Linked DNA regions of Homo sapiens: all the other regions are linked to region 4. Evidence: promoter capture Hi-C in human tissues and cell types (Jung and others, 2019). All regions are on one chromosome and are shown on one strand. Each heading gives the region's core, a stretch centred on a gene start or on the middle of the fragment in contact. The rest is flanking DNA. Distances are from core to core; before and after follow the strand shown.

Region 1 (2,818 bases), core at 94-2,593, 350 kb after region 4:
TAATAATCATATGTTTGGGGTGTAATTTTGGACTGGTGATTTCACCACACTGCACAGTTGACTAATTTTATATTTTGCTGGGAGAAGGCAAAAACTTTCTTCCAGTAAAGGGAACATTCGCACACCCTGATTTGACTACCTCGGTTATTTATATTCAGGCGTACAGAGCTAAACATGTAGAAACATCATGACTTCATTACAAAATCCAAAACTATTCAAGAATGAACATTAAATGCCTTTAAAATCGGGCTGGGAAGTTGGAGACATTAGAACTCTTCAGACCTGGAGGCTCTCCCCAAGTGCTTCTTTGTAGCAGTGTGGTTTAGTGGTTCAGGACCTTCCATTGTTGAAGGACATATAATATACAATGGAGTGATAAATAAAGTCCTGGCAACAAACACTCTTTGAGGACTAAACAAGGAACTGATGGGGAAGATGGCTCAGCATTTTAAGTTACTCTTCTCAAGTGACAGTTTTCAGGGGTGTCAATTTTTTGGCTTCCCTCGGCCACATTGGAAGAAGAGGAACTGTCTTGGACTACACATAAAAGATGCTAACACGGCCGGGCGCGTTGGCTCATACCTGTAATCACAACACTTTGGGAGGCCGAGGTGGGTAGATCACTTGAGCTCAGGAGTTTGAGACCAGCCTGGCTGACATGGCGAAACCTCGTCTCTACAAAAAATAGAAAAAAAATTAGCTGAGTGTGGTGGTGCACACCTGTAGTCCCAGCTACTAGGGAGGCCAAGGTGGGAGGATCGCTTGAGCCCGGAAGGCCGAGGTTGCAGTGAGCCAAGGTTGCACCACTGCACTCCAGCCTGGGCGACAGTGAGACCCTGTCTCAAAAAAAAAAAAAAAAAAAGACACTAATGATGAGCCTAAAACAAAAAACAAAAAACAGCAAAAAACCTCATAATGTTTAAGAAAGGTTATGAATTTGTGTTGGGCTGCCGCGGGTTGGACAAGCTTGGACTTTAAATTGTCCAGAGAGCGAGTGTGATTGTTTTTCTTACTAAAAGAGCACGGGGCTGCTCCAAATCACAAGTATTGTAGGACACTGCCAATCCTAATTTTGATATCTCTAATTTCAGATAAACATAAAAAACACATTTCTGTATACATAGAGAGCAGAAGTTCTCTATTTCTGAACCTTTTTGATCCATCAGAGCCAGAGAATCTCCTGGGATGCCTTGAGTGGCCTGAAGTGGTCAGTTCACAGAATAGGCACGGGCTGGCTGGGGTGTGTTGGCTGCTGCAGGGAGTCCCGCAAGGCCGTCCGTCGCGTGCTGTCCGTAGGGAGGTCTGGAATGCGCCGCAGCTACTCTTTGCTTGCAAGGCTGCCTGGGATGACAGTGGGAGTTAGCAGTCAGCAGATAGTTGAAGCACTCATTTCTGTCCTTCGTTTATTACTTATATGTAGCTGCCCTGAGCGGGATGGGATGCATGTAGTTATTCGATAACTGGACTTGAATTTATTTGGTAAAAATAACTCAGGAATCGAACGGGCTTACAGTTTGAACATGCCTGCAAATGCAGGAAATTGCTAAACTTCTGCTTTGAAAATGAGGCAGCCCATGTAGATTGCAACATGTTTTTGAGGTGTAGCCTTTGAGTGGGCTGGGGCTGTTGTCTTTCTCAAGATCCCAGTTAGGAAGGAGCAGCAGGGACTCCCCTCTGGTTTGGACCTCCCCACCACCAGCCTCCGAAGCCTTGTCCCCTCCTTGACTGAGCACTTACTTGCAGCCTCCAGGAAAGCCCAGCACCTGTGGATGCTGTAATTCCAGCACTGCCCCCGAGGTGTGCTTAATATCTAGTTAGGGCGAGAGAGATCTCAGGGCAGAGCGTTTGCCCAAATCATTTCCTCTCTGGGACAAGAGACACGCAGGACTTCCTGCCAGCCCAGAGGGGCTGTGAGCTGCAGGTTCCGAGAGACACGCAGGACTTCCTGCCAACCCAGAGGGGCTGTCAGCTGCAGGTTCCGAGAGACACGCAGGACTTCCTGCCAACCCAGAGGGGCTGTCAGCTGCAGGTTCCGAGAGACACGCAGGACTTCCTGCCAGCCCAGAGGGGCTGTGAGCTGCAGGTTCCGAGAGACACGCAGGACTTCCTGCCAACCCAGAAGGGCTGTGAGCTGCAGGTTCCGAGAGACACGCAGGACTTCCTGCCAGCCCAGAGGGGCTGTCAGCTGCAGGTTCAGCGAGGCCACGGCTGCCTCTGCCTGATTTTACTTCCCAGAGGCCAGCGTCTCCTGGGTTTTGCCTCTCTGGGGCCCCCCTGCCTCCCAGGGCCCTTTGCCTGCACCTCTGGGTGGTCCTTCCCTGTGAGGCTGCAGAACCAGGGTCCTGCCCCAGGGCATCCCTTCCCATGTTTGCTCCCCACGTTCACCGCCCGTGGCATCACCACCATAGACTCCAGGTCCTGGTGATACCCTGGTGGAGGGACTTCTGTGTCATCCTGTCTCCTGTTGCATCAGCTGTGCGTGTCCCAGCAGGGATGGCCCTCGTGGCCCCTGTGCATGTCCAGGGTCCCTTCTCTACTTTTCCAGCCCCCACTGTAGGCACGTGTCCCCACTGGGTGTCTTGCCTCACACCCATCCCAGGCTTGGCAGGCAGGCACCACTGCGTCCTGTGTGCCACGCTGTCTAGAGAGCCTGTCCACAGAGTGCCTTTCTCCTTGACTAGATCTCCTGGAGATGCGCGGCCCCGGCACCTGCATAGAGCACTTGGGTCCGGCCGTGCCAGCCAAGTAGCCTCTTTGGTGTCCCCGCCATCCCACCTGGCTTGGTCCTTGTGGGCCTCACAGATGCTGGTAGCCTGGT
Region 2 (2,769 bases), core at 146-2,645, 440 kb before region 4:
CACATGTTGAAAGACAAGAGCTAGATAGCTTAGTTTGTGATTAATTGAAAACTCTGTCTTTGGATTCAAAGAAAAGGCAATGATCCAATTTATTAAAATGCTTTAATTACGGGAGTCTAGTATTTTTTAAACTATAAAATACAAACCAATCAGTTGGTTCTCTCCTCAAACAGATGGTTCTCTAACAAGTGCAGCTCAAAACCCACACACAACCTCTAGTGCCGCGATGGTCACAACAGAGCCATCGAAACTAGTGGACCGATGATGGGACCACATGCATTATTTCACCGAATGTCCTTTACGACTCTATGAAGCAGATGCTGTCATGACCCACAGGTTGTAGATGAGGAAACTGAGACTCAGGAGGGGAAGAGCAAATGCCCAGTGTCCCACAGCTGAATGCAAAGGTGGGGCTGGCAGCCAGGCCGACATGCTCCCCAGCCCATGCACTGGGCAGCTGAGCTGCAGGGAAAATTCTGGTCATCAAAAGCCACACTTCCCTCTCTGCACCCAACAGGGCTGCTTCTCAAGAAGCATTATGCTAGCTGTGTGGGCAATAAAGGCTGCCATAAGAAAACCTCCATCTCAGTTCCCTGGCGTGAAGGGACAGAGTGCTTCCCCAGCCTCCTCTGTTCGATGGCTTCAGCTTTCTGTTCACTTCACCAGCAAGTTTACTTCTCATAGGAAAAAAGGAACATTAAGCGCAAAGAGGTGCACCTTTCAGCCTCTTGGCCAAAGGTTAGGACTCAAGTAACTTCTTTCTCTCAGACATAGTCCAGGCTGTAATATTTTAGAGCATGCTTGGACATTGGGAGGGGAAGCATCAGAGCGTGAGCTGGCAGCAATCCCACTGATATGGTTTGGCTGTGACCCCACCCAGCTCTCATCTTGAATTGTCATTCCCATAATCTCCACACATAATGGGAGGGACCCAGTGAGAGGTAATTGAATCATGGGGGCAGTTACCTTCATGCTGTTCTCGTGACAGTGAGTTCTCAGGAGATCTGATGGTTTTATAAGGGGTTTCCCCCGACCCTTCACTCTCATTCTTCTCCTTCCTGCTGCCATGTGAAGAAGGACATGTTTGCTTCCCTTTCTGCTATGATTGTAAGTGTCCTGAGGCCTCCCCATCCCTGTGTAACTGTGAGTCAGTTAAACTTCTTTCCTTTATAAATTACCCAGTCTTGAGTATGTCTCTTAGCAGTGTGAGAATGGACTAATACGGTAAATTGGTACTGCAGAGAGTGGGGCACTGCTGTAAAGATACTCAAAAATGTCGAAGCAACTTTGGAACTGGGTAATAGGCAGAGGCTGGAACAGTTTGGATGGCTCAGAAGAAGACAGGAAAATGTTGGAAAGTTTGAAACTTCCTAGAGCCTTGGGGGTGCTGAGAAGACAGGAAGATGTGGGAAATTTTGGAACTTCCTAGAAACTGTTGAATGTCTTTGACCAAAATGGTGATAGTGATATGGACAATGAAGTCCAGGCTAAGGTAGTCTCAGATGGAGATCAGAAACTTCTTGGGAACTGGAGTAAAGGTCACTCTTGCTATGCTTTAGCAAAGAGACTGGTGGCATTTTGCCCTTGCCCTAGAGATCTGTGGAACTTTGAACTTGAGAGAGATGGTTTGGAATTGGAACTTACGTTTATAAGGGAAGCAAAGCATATAAACGTTTGGAAAATTTGCAACCTGATCATGCAATAGAAAAGAAAAAAACGCATTTTTGGAGGAGAAATTCAAGCAGGCTGCAGAAATTTGCATAAATAATGAGAAGCCAAATGTTAATCACCAAGACAATAGGGAAAATGTTTCCAGGGCACATCAGAGGTCTTCATGGCAGCCTTTCCCATCACACACCCAGAGGCCTAGGAGGAAAAGTGGTTTCATGTCCAAGCCCAGGGCCTTGCTTCTTTGTGTAGTCTTGGGGTTTGGTGTCCTGTGTCCCAGCTGTGGCTAATAGGGGCCAACATATAGCTCAAGCCATCGCTTTAGCAGGTGTAAGCCCCAAGCCTTGGCAGCTTACCCATGAGGTTGGGCCTGCAGGTGCACGGAAGTCAAGAATTGAGGTTGGGGAACCTCCATCTAGATTTCAGAGGATGTATGGAAATGCTTGGATGCCCAGGCAGAAGTCTACTGCAGGGGCAGAGTCCTTATGGAGAACCTCTGCTGGGGCAGTACAGAATGGAAATGTGGGGTCAGAGCTCCCACACAGACTCCCCACTGGGGCATTACCTAGTGGATCTGTGAGAAGAGGGCCACCATCCTCCAGACCCCAGAATGGTAGATCCATCCAAAGCTTGCACCCTGCACCTGGAAAAGCCATAGACACTCAACATCAGCCATGAAGGCAGCCCGGAAGGGGGCTATGCCCTGCAAAGCCACAGGGGAGGAGCTACCCAAGGCCATGGGAGCCCACCTCTTGCATCAGTGTGACCTGGACGTGAAACATGGAGTCCAAGGAGATCATTTTGGAGCTTTAAGATTTGGCTGCTCCACTGGATTTCAGATTTGCATGGGGCCTGTAGCCTCTTTGTTTTGGCTAATTTCTCCTATTTGGAATGGTTGTATTTCCCCAATGCCTGTACTCCCATTGTATCTAGGAAGTATAATAGGTACGTGCTTTTGATTGTAAAGGCTTATAGGCAAAAGGGACTTGCCTTGTCTCAGATGAGACTTTGAACTCAGACTGTTGAGTTAATGCTGGAATGAGTTAAGATTTTGGGGGAATGCTGGAAGGGCATGATTGTGTTTTGAAATGTGAGGACATG
Region 3 (2,700 bases), core at 100-2,599, 340 kb after region 4:
TATTTTAGGGGAATGACTTAAATAGCTATAAGGAAGGATATATTTATAGGGGCTATAAATGCATCATTTGTATTTGAAATTTCTAGCATCCACTACAGTGTACGAAGTGTATTTTAGATGGACTGGTAAAAACCAGCAGTTGCAACTGTCTGTTTTGCATTCCTTATGCTCTGCATCTGGCCACACGTGACTTGAACAGCTGAAGCTTCTCTTTCCAAAGCTAGAGCCATCATCGTATTTATGTCTAGCCTGAGATGTTTTCCGATGGTATACATTCGAATTGTAAAGCAGTGTAATTTGTGGCTCTCAACATGCCTTAAAAGTCATTTCCAAAAAAGATCTGGCATTTAATCTTTAATTCAAATGGTACTGAAAATTACAAAGCAGGAGTAATTAGAAATGCAACTATTTTTAGAAAGCAAACATGTAAATATATGTTAAGTGATGACTAAAACACAAGCAGGAGAGTAGGAAAAATTATTTAAAAGACAACTATAGTAGGTTTAGATACATCTTACCATATACTGTATTTTAACTCTGTGTTAATTCTGGTAGATTTACTTCGTATTCCTGTTTCTGTACCTTCCCCCCGAACCTTGGTCAGGAAGTAAGTAAAGTCTATAGAATCTCAGAATTTACTGGGCCGAGAAGAGATGTATATCGTATGTAATTGTGAAATCCAGACAGTTCCTCAACTGAGTGGTGAAAATGGGATGAAATCTTAGTGTGTTTTGTTATCTTCAAGGCAGAGGGAATCTGGTGTTTTTTTTTTTTTTTCCTTCAAAACCAGGTAGACAACGTCTCTCACCGCCCTGGGGAGTTGCTGGTGCTGGCTCAGCCTCCAGGATACAGCTGTCCTGTTATTTTCTTGCTTTTTTAGGAGATGGTGTGCGTAGAGGAAGATGTGGTGTTAGTTTTCAGGACACAGTTAAAGACAGGCTTAAAAAATCAAGGTTCTCTATTAAAACTATAATTTCTTGTTAATGGCTAAGAATTAAAAATTTTTCAGCGCTATTAACACTTGAAGAACTCTCTAATCCCCCACTCTTCCCATGTGAAAGTAAAGGACATTTGTTTAGGAATTTTTTTGTTTCAGAAAAGGGCAACATGTGTCTGTCTTTGCCATATGGTACTATTTAACCTATATTGCATGAGCTGACAAGACACTGTGTTTGGGCATTGATTTATTTTAGCATTCGAGAATGTTCTTTGAAATTTAGTACAGTAAATGATGCATTGAAAGTTGTACAGAATGGTCGTTTGTGGCTTTAGCAGATTCTTTCTCAGTTGATACTTAAGGGTGTAGTGAACAAGTTTCACTTTTTTTCCACCGATACAATTTTTGTGAGAAATAGTTTGCCATTCAATGCTGAGTGACTGTTAATTCAGGAAAACACAGACTTGAATATAAGTAGTTAAGACTTCTGGGGGTCACAAATAAGGCTAAGAGTTGGGCAGGTCAGAAAGAGAAGATTCACTGTTTAGTTCCTGATTATTCTGGTGATTTTAACCTAGAGCAAAAAAGTATGTTTATTATTATTATTATTTTTGTCAAAAAGACTCAGCTTTTGTCCCCATCTTTTTTTTTTTTTTTTAAAGAAATGAGTTAATGAACAAATGGACAATCCTATTTAATAGTTCCCCTGAGCTTCTGTGGTGCGGCCCTGGAATTATCTACAGGCAGAACTGAGATGTTTTCACTTAGGCTGTGTTTTGTTTACACATGCTGGTTTGGGTTTTTGGGTAGACCTGTGTTGAATTCACAGGGTGGCTCTTATGCCATGTTGCAGGAATTTATTAGTATGGAACCCCACAGAAGATTCCACCTCCATTTTTAACATTCTGTATGGCTGTCGAGTCGACACCAAAGCAAATGTGTCTCCAGACACCTCTCTCTCGTTGTCTCAGTCTTGTTGGCTTTAATCATCCTGTTTTCTCTGTTTTACGAAAGAAGTAAACAAATTTCTATTCATCCACACGTGTGTCCCCAAAGCAAGGCATATGTGGACTGAAAGGTGGGCTGGGGCTTTGCTTCGAGAACGTGAGCGAAGAGCGTGTGAGTGCACGTTGCCTTTGGTGATGCATCATTTATATTGACATTATCAGTGACACAGACAGAACATTTTTATGCCAGTTTGAGAAAATACCATCATTCACATTGATAATCATATTCCCCCCAGATTTAGATTAATCATTTCAAAGCTTTTCATGTCTTTAGCATGACCATTAGCATAATGATGATAATTTGTCCCTTTGAGTAACACCAAGCATAATTTAAATTAACGTTATTGTGTTGAGTGCAGTGCAACCCCAGGTGCTCAAGTAGCTTCCTTTTTTCAAAAATGGCTTTTTACTTTTTAAAATGAGAGGCAAGCAAGACGATCTCATTCCTAAAACCAACTTAAAAAATAAAAGTGTTAATAAATAAGTGAATTCCTAATGTAAAAGTGCTTGCCGTAGCAACGTAAACTTGGGGACAATTCTGTAGAGTCATGCGATTAGTGGTTTAGTGGTAGGATTAAAATTAGCCTCGGTAAATTACCCTGGTGACAGAAAAGCAGAATCTGTTAATGGTTTCACAGGAAGATTGGCTTATCAGTTATTTTCTAGGTTGATGAAAGATTATGGGCTGCTAAGAATTTGAACTTTAGAAAGTAAGGTTGATTTTCCTAATATTTACATATTTTAAAGTATAGGTAT
Region 4 (2,749 bases), core at 90-2,589:
GGGGGAGACTCGCGTCCAAGGCCGCACGGGAACCACGGCGCCCGCGAGAAAAAGCGCGGCGCCCCCTACCCCACTGCCCTCGACCTGGGAACCGCGGCACCGGCGAGTGCGCCCCGATCCCCCTGCGCAGGAAAGTCCGTTCCTCAAGCTCCGGGCTGGGGCTTTGGAAGGCAAGTCAATTCCTGACTGCTGGAAGGGCCAGGGTCTGGGGGTGCCCGGTTGTGTGTCTGCCTGCTCTTAAATTCTGGGCCTTTCTCCTTCCTTGGAAAACAAAATCTGAGTTATTTCATGACTTTAGCAAAGTACCATGGAGAATAAATTACTGGGGAAAACACTTCCTGACGCCTACTGTGTGCACGATCTAGCGCTCCCCACATAACACTGATGCCTACTGTATGCACGACCCACAGCGCTCTCCAGAAGCTCCAGGTTCAAGCTACCCGGATCACAATGGTGCCTACTGTTTGCACGACCCACAGCGCTCTCCAGATGCCCAGGGTTCCAGCCCCCCGGATCACAATGGCGCCTACTGTATGCACTACCCACAGCGTCTGCAGAGGCTCAGGGTTCAAGTTCCCGGATCACAATGGCGCCTACTGTATGCACGCCCCACAGCGCGCCCCAGATAACACTGGAGCACACTGTGTGCACGACCCTGCGCTTCCCGGACAACGCTGGCGCCTACTGTGTGCACGACCCCGCGCTCCACGGCCTCCCTGTGGGCCGAGCCCAACGTCCCCGGGGCAGCCGGCGCCGCGCAGGGTCGGGCGGGGGCGCCGTCCGGGAGGAGCCCGGGGCGCGGTATCCGCAGGCCCGGGCTCTGGCCAGGCCGCCTCCCCAGCGCGCCCCGCGGCCCTCCGGCCCCGGGACGGAACACGGGGCGGCCACTTTCCCTCAAGTTCAGCGCGGGCCGCGGCAGGGCCAGCGGGGGCAGGGCGCGCGCAGGAGGCGGCCGCCTGCTCCCTCACCCGCCTCCCGCCTCCCGCCTCAGCCGCCGCCCGGCCCAGGAAAGTAGGCCCAGCGCGCGGAGGGGCCGGGCGGCGACTCGCCCGTATCATTCCGCCCGCGCTGCGGCCCGCCCGGCCAGTCGGCGGCGGCGGCGGCCCGGGTCTGCGCGGCCCCCGCCCCCGCCCCGCCGCTCCCGGCGCCCCCCGCGCCGCATCCGGGGACTGGCAGGGCGCGGGCCCCGCACCGGCCGCCGGCGGGGCGCGAGGGCGCGGCCGCGGGCCTTACCGGAGTCGCCGCGCGCCTTGCTCTCCCTGGGCTTCGGGGGGCGGCCCCGCGGCATCGTCGGCGGCCCGGCTCGCACCCACACCCACTCACACTCACACTCACACTCACACGCGGCGGCGGGGGCGCGCACGCGCGGGCACCGGGGCGGGGGCGCGCCCAGCCGGCGCTAGAGGCGGGCGGAGCTGCCCGGCGGCGGGCGGCCCGGTCCGAGCGCCGCCGGGCTCACGGGGGAAAGGCGCCTGAACGCGCGCACCGGAGCGCTCGAACCGCGCCGGCCTTGGCAGGTTCCATGGCCCGCGGGCCGCGGTGGGGGCGTTGGGCGCGGGCGCGGGCGCGGTGGGGGCGGGGGCGGCGGCGGGGCGCATGCGCGGCGCCGCGGGGCCTTAGCGGACGGAGGGGAGCGCGGGGGTCACCGGGCCGGGCCGGCAGCCCTAGAGCTCGGCCTGGCGGGGACCCTGGGCCAGCCCCGCGCCTCCGTGGCCCGGGCGTCTCGTGCGTGTCCGCGAACTCGCGTGCGCGCGTCACCTCGGACCGCAGCATGGCTCGGAGGGCGGCCCTACTCGCGCCGCCCTAGTGCTGCGAAGGGCCTCGGAGCCCAAACCCGGAACCGCCATCTGGGACTGGGAAGACGACATGGCCAGAAGCCGGTAATGTTCCTTTCCCTGGGGGCAGTGCATTAAAATGGACCATTTCACGTGTGCTGGTCTTGTGTGTTGTTGCCTGCGCTAACTTACACGAAGTGGCAACAGGAACAGGCAGCGCAGCACCCGAGCGCCGGGTGGAGAGGCCGGCCGAGCCCGGGGAAAGCGACCTTACTCTGTCACCTGGGCTGGAGTGCAGTGGCGCAAATTAAAGTGTGCAGTTTGATACATCTTGACACATGTATACACTGTGAAACCATCATCACAATCAACAGTGAAGATGTTCCTCCCGTCTCTCTGTAACCCTTTCCTCTCTCCCTCCTTCCCTCCTCCCCCTCCCACCCATCTGCTTTTTGTCACTATAGTTTGAATTTCCTGGAGTTTTTAAATATCTTTTTATACAGACTGGGTCTCGCTTGCTCTGTCACCCAGGCGGGAGTGCAGTGACACGATCGGGACCCACTGTAGCCTCAAACTCCTGCCCTTAAGCAATCCAACTGCTTCAGCCTCCCGAGTAGCTGAGACTGCAGGTGAGGACCGCCATGTCTAGCTTTTTGTTTTTTTTTAAACATATGGGGTCTCTCTGTGTTGCCCAGCCTGCTCTGGAACTCCTAGCTTCAATTGACCCTCTGCCTCAGCCTCCCAAAGTGTTGGGATTGCAGATGTGAGCCACTGTGCCCAACCTGTTTTTCTTGGTGTTTTATATAAATGGAATTGTATCGCACGTAATCTTTAGGGAAGTGGGGGCTGTTCATTGAGCATAATTATGTTGGAATTCATCTATATATTGATAAATATTTTAAGTGCTTTTTATTGCTGAGCGGTGTCTAGGAGTCATTCTTGCTTACCCTTTCCCACTGCAGCCTTCACTCAAT
Region 5 (2,823 bases), core at 49-2,548, 390 kb before region 4:
CCACCCCCACTCCTGCCAGGGCCTCGGGCTGCGCTGAGCATCAGTTGGCTCCATCCCACCCCCTGCACAAGCAGGCAGCACCCTGACCTATCCAGGGCAATGTCAGTGGGTCCGTTGTGGAGCTGAGCCCCACTCCACCCCACCCGGCAGCAACAACCCTGAGCAAAGCAGTGTGACATGGGGCTGCTCACTGCCCTGTGCCCTCCCTGGCAAGCCCCTCACCATAAGAAAGGATAAGGGGTAGGGGGCAGGTTGAGTCCACTTTTTCCCCTCAGTATCAACCGGGCTGAGGAGGGAGCCCCCTCCCTGTGTAGCATCACTGAGGCTAAAGCTGGCAGTGGGAGGCAGGCCGTGGCACCGGCTTCCCCACAGCCTCCCTGGGGTCAGCAGGGCCCAAGGAAGCTGAGTGTAGCCGAAGCCCCACATCCACCTGAAGATACTAGAAGGGCCAGGGGAAGGTTATCATCACCCCACCTGCCTGCAGCCACCCAGCACGGTCAGGGCTCTGCTGCGGCTGTAGTGCCACGTGTACCCAGCCCAGCGGACAGCACCTGCTGCAGACGAAGACGCCAGCAGCTCGGGAGTCTCATAAGATATCCTAAATGTACGGGCTCCGATCCAAAGTCACTCAGCATACCAAGAACTAGGATAATCACAACTGGAAGGAGAAATAAACCGATGGATGACAACACGGAGATGAGTCAGAGGCTATCATTAGCTGAGCAGGATCTTCACATAACCATCATAAATACACTTCAGCATGTATGAATTCCCGTGGAATAAATGGAAAATTAGACAATTTTAGCAAAAGAATAAAGAAGAACCAAAGGAGGCCGGGCATGGTGGCTTACGCCTGTAATCCCAGCACTTTGGGAGGCCAAGGCAGGTGGATCACCTGAGGTCAGGAGGTCGAGACCAGCCTGACCAACATGGTGAAACCCCACCTCAACTAAAAATACAAAAATTAGCCTGGCACGATGGTGGGCACTTGTAGTCCCAGCTACTCGAGAGGCTGAGAGAGGAGAATCACTTGAACCCAGGAGCCAGAGGTTGCAGTGAGCAGAGATCATGCCACCTCACTCCAGCTGGGTGACAGAGTGAGACTCGGTCTGAAAAAAAAAAAAAGAAATTATAAAGCAAGAAAACACAATAACCAAAAGACAAACAAACCTAAAACCTCAATGCGTGGACTCAACCAGGACAGCGAGAGGACAAAAGACTGGACGAGGGCCAGAAGTCACCAACTCAGAGCAGCATTGAGGAAGTGGGCTGAGGAGAAAGAACAGACTCTCAGGAGCCTGTGTCATCCTCAGAGGAAAGAGAAAGTGAAACTGGAAGGTATATTTTTTAAATGGCTGTAAACTTCCCAAGTTTAGTGAAATATACTAAAGATTCAAGGATCTGAGAAAATTCCAAATGTGGTAAACCCAAAGAAATTTATACCAAGATACATCATAATCAAAGGTCTGAAAAACTAAAGACAAAGAAAAATAGCTGCAAAGTAGCCAGAGAGAAACACATTGCTTGTAGGACGTGCAAATTTTCCGTTTGAAACCATGGAACCCAAAAGGAAGTAGCAAGCGTCTCAAATACCAAGAGAAAAGGCCAGTCAACCAAAAGTCTATGGCAGGGAAAATGTCCCTCATGGACGGGTATAAATAGAGATATTCTCCAGTGAAGGAGCACTAAGAGAATCTGCCATCAGCAGGGTTACTCAAAGCATGGCTCGAGGAAGTTTCCTAAACAGAAGGGAAATTATAAAAGAAGCAATATTGGAATATTGGGAAGAAAGTGAGAACAACAGCAAAAGTAAAAAATATGGGTAAATAAATAGACTCCTTCTCCTCTTGAGTTTTCTAAATTATGTTCCATGGTTGGAAGCAAAAATGATAATGCTGTCTGATGTTCTCAATGTATGTAAAGAAAGTATTAAAGATGATAGTCATATTATAAACTATAACATAATATTGTAAACTATAATATAATATGGGGGAGGGAAAGTATGAAACGAGAGTTTAGGTGACCATATTGTATTAGAACTAACAAAATCTAGCACCACTAGACCATGTAGGATGTGTATAAATAATGAAGTACCTACAGCTACCATTTTTAAAAACTATAAAAAAGGATAAACCCCAAAACACTAGATAAATCAAAATGGAATTCTTAAAAAAAAAAAAAGTTCAAGTACAGGAAAGCCAGGAAAAACAAAATAAAGAAACACTAAACAGTGTTTTTATACTTCAGTAAGGACATTAAAAACAACCAGCCTCCGGGCACAGTGGCTCACGCCTGGAATCCCAGCACTTTGGGAGGCCAAAATGGGAGGATCACTTGAGCCCAGGAGTTCAAGACCAGCCTGGGCAACATACTGAAACCCCGTCTCTTTCTAAAAATAATAATAATAATAAACACTAGTGACTGCAGAAGCAAGGGCTGTCTTTGGTCGGCATCTCTCTGGTGTGTTTCTCGTGGGACATAATCTGCTGAATGCGTGGACTTGGAGTTAACTGAACCCCTTTCAACTTTCAGTCGTTCTCTGCATGTGTCTGAGCACGTGCCCCGACCCTGGAGCACCCTGGGCACTCAGCCAGCGTGGTCCTGACCTCACAAAGCCTTTGGATTCAGGCAGGAGAGAAAATATGCTATCAATAATTCAGGGCTTCTAAATTTGCTGCCAGCTGAGATTTCTGAAATTCCTGCCGTGTGAGGGCTTCATCCTGAGCCCTGTGTAGTGCCCCTGGTGGAGATGTGTGGTGTGCCCCATTTTACAGAGAAGGATCAAGAGAATCACGAGTATCTTCCGAGGTCATGTAGCATACA

The links. The method cuts DNA at HindIII sites, captures the fragments that hold promoters and counts their contacts. A contact is called where the count stands out against the background at its distance.
Region 1: a fragment that was not itself captured here is called in contact with the fragment with the promoter of ZNF236 in region 4 in 1 of the 25 tissues and cell types used here (mesendoderm cells).
Region 2: a contact is called between a fragment that was not itself captured here and the fragment with the promoter of ZNF236 in region 4, in 2 of the 25 tissues and cell types used here (aorta and stomach).
Region 3: a contact is called between a fragment that was not itself captured here and the fragment with the promoter of ZNF236 in region 4, in 1 of the 25 tissues and cell types used here (lymphoblastoid cells).
Region 5: a contact is called between a fragment that was not itself captured here and the fragment with the promoter of ZNF236 in region 4, in 2 of the 25 tissues and cell types used here (lymphoblastoid cells and spleen).

What each region holds. Positions count from the first base shown.
Region 1 is chr18:76,466,462-76,469,279 of GRCh38, reverse strand. All of the region lies in intron 1 of ZNF516 (zinc finger protein 516), which reads left to right. Among named protein-coding and RNA genes, the nearest start is that of ZNF516-AS1, 24 kb to the left of the region's middle. The HindIII fragment of the contact is 9,098 bases long and covers 1-2,818 here.
Region 2 is chr18:77,264,997-77,267,765 of GRCh38, reverse strand. All of the region lies in intron 2 of GALR1 (galanin receptor 1), which reads right to left. Among named protein-coding and RNA genes, the nearest start is that of GALR1, 17 kb to the right of the region's middle. The HindIII fragment of the contact is 3,933 bases long and covers 1-2,769 here.
Region 3 is chr18:76,484,764-76,487,463 of GRCh38, reverse strand. All of the region lies in intron 1 of ZNF516 (zinc finger protein 516), which reads left to right. Among named protein-coding and RNA genes, the nearest start is that of ZNF516-AS1, 5.5 kb to the left of the region's middle. The HindIII fragment of the contact is 4,856 bases long and covers 1-2,700 here.
Region 4 is chr18:76,821,147-76,823,895 of GRCh38, reverse strand. ZNF236 (zinc finger protein 236) reads right to left here and starts at 1,339. Exons shown (of 31, transcript NM_001306089.2): 1 at 1,234-1,339. The coding sequence starts at 1,288. ZNF236-DT (ZNF236 divergent transcript) reads left to right here and starts at 1,601. Exons shown (of 3, transcript NR_040024.1): 1 at 1,601-1,880. RefSeq lists silencers at 708-1,447, 1,568-1,757 and enhancers at 1,828-1,937, 1,978-2,057. The HindIII fragment of the contact is 16,105 bases long and covers 1-2,749 here.
Region 5 is chr18:77,207,579-77,210,401 of GRCh38, reverse strand. No RefSeq gene overlaps it. Among named protein-coding and RNA genes, the nearest start is that of GALR1, 41 kb to the left of the region's middle. RefSeq lists an enhancer at 1,017-1,076. The HindIII fragment of the contact is 8,646 bases long and covers 1-2,823 here.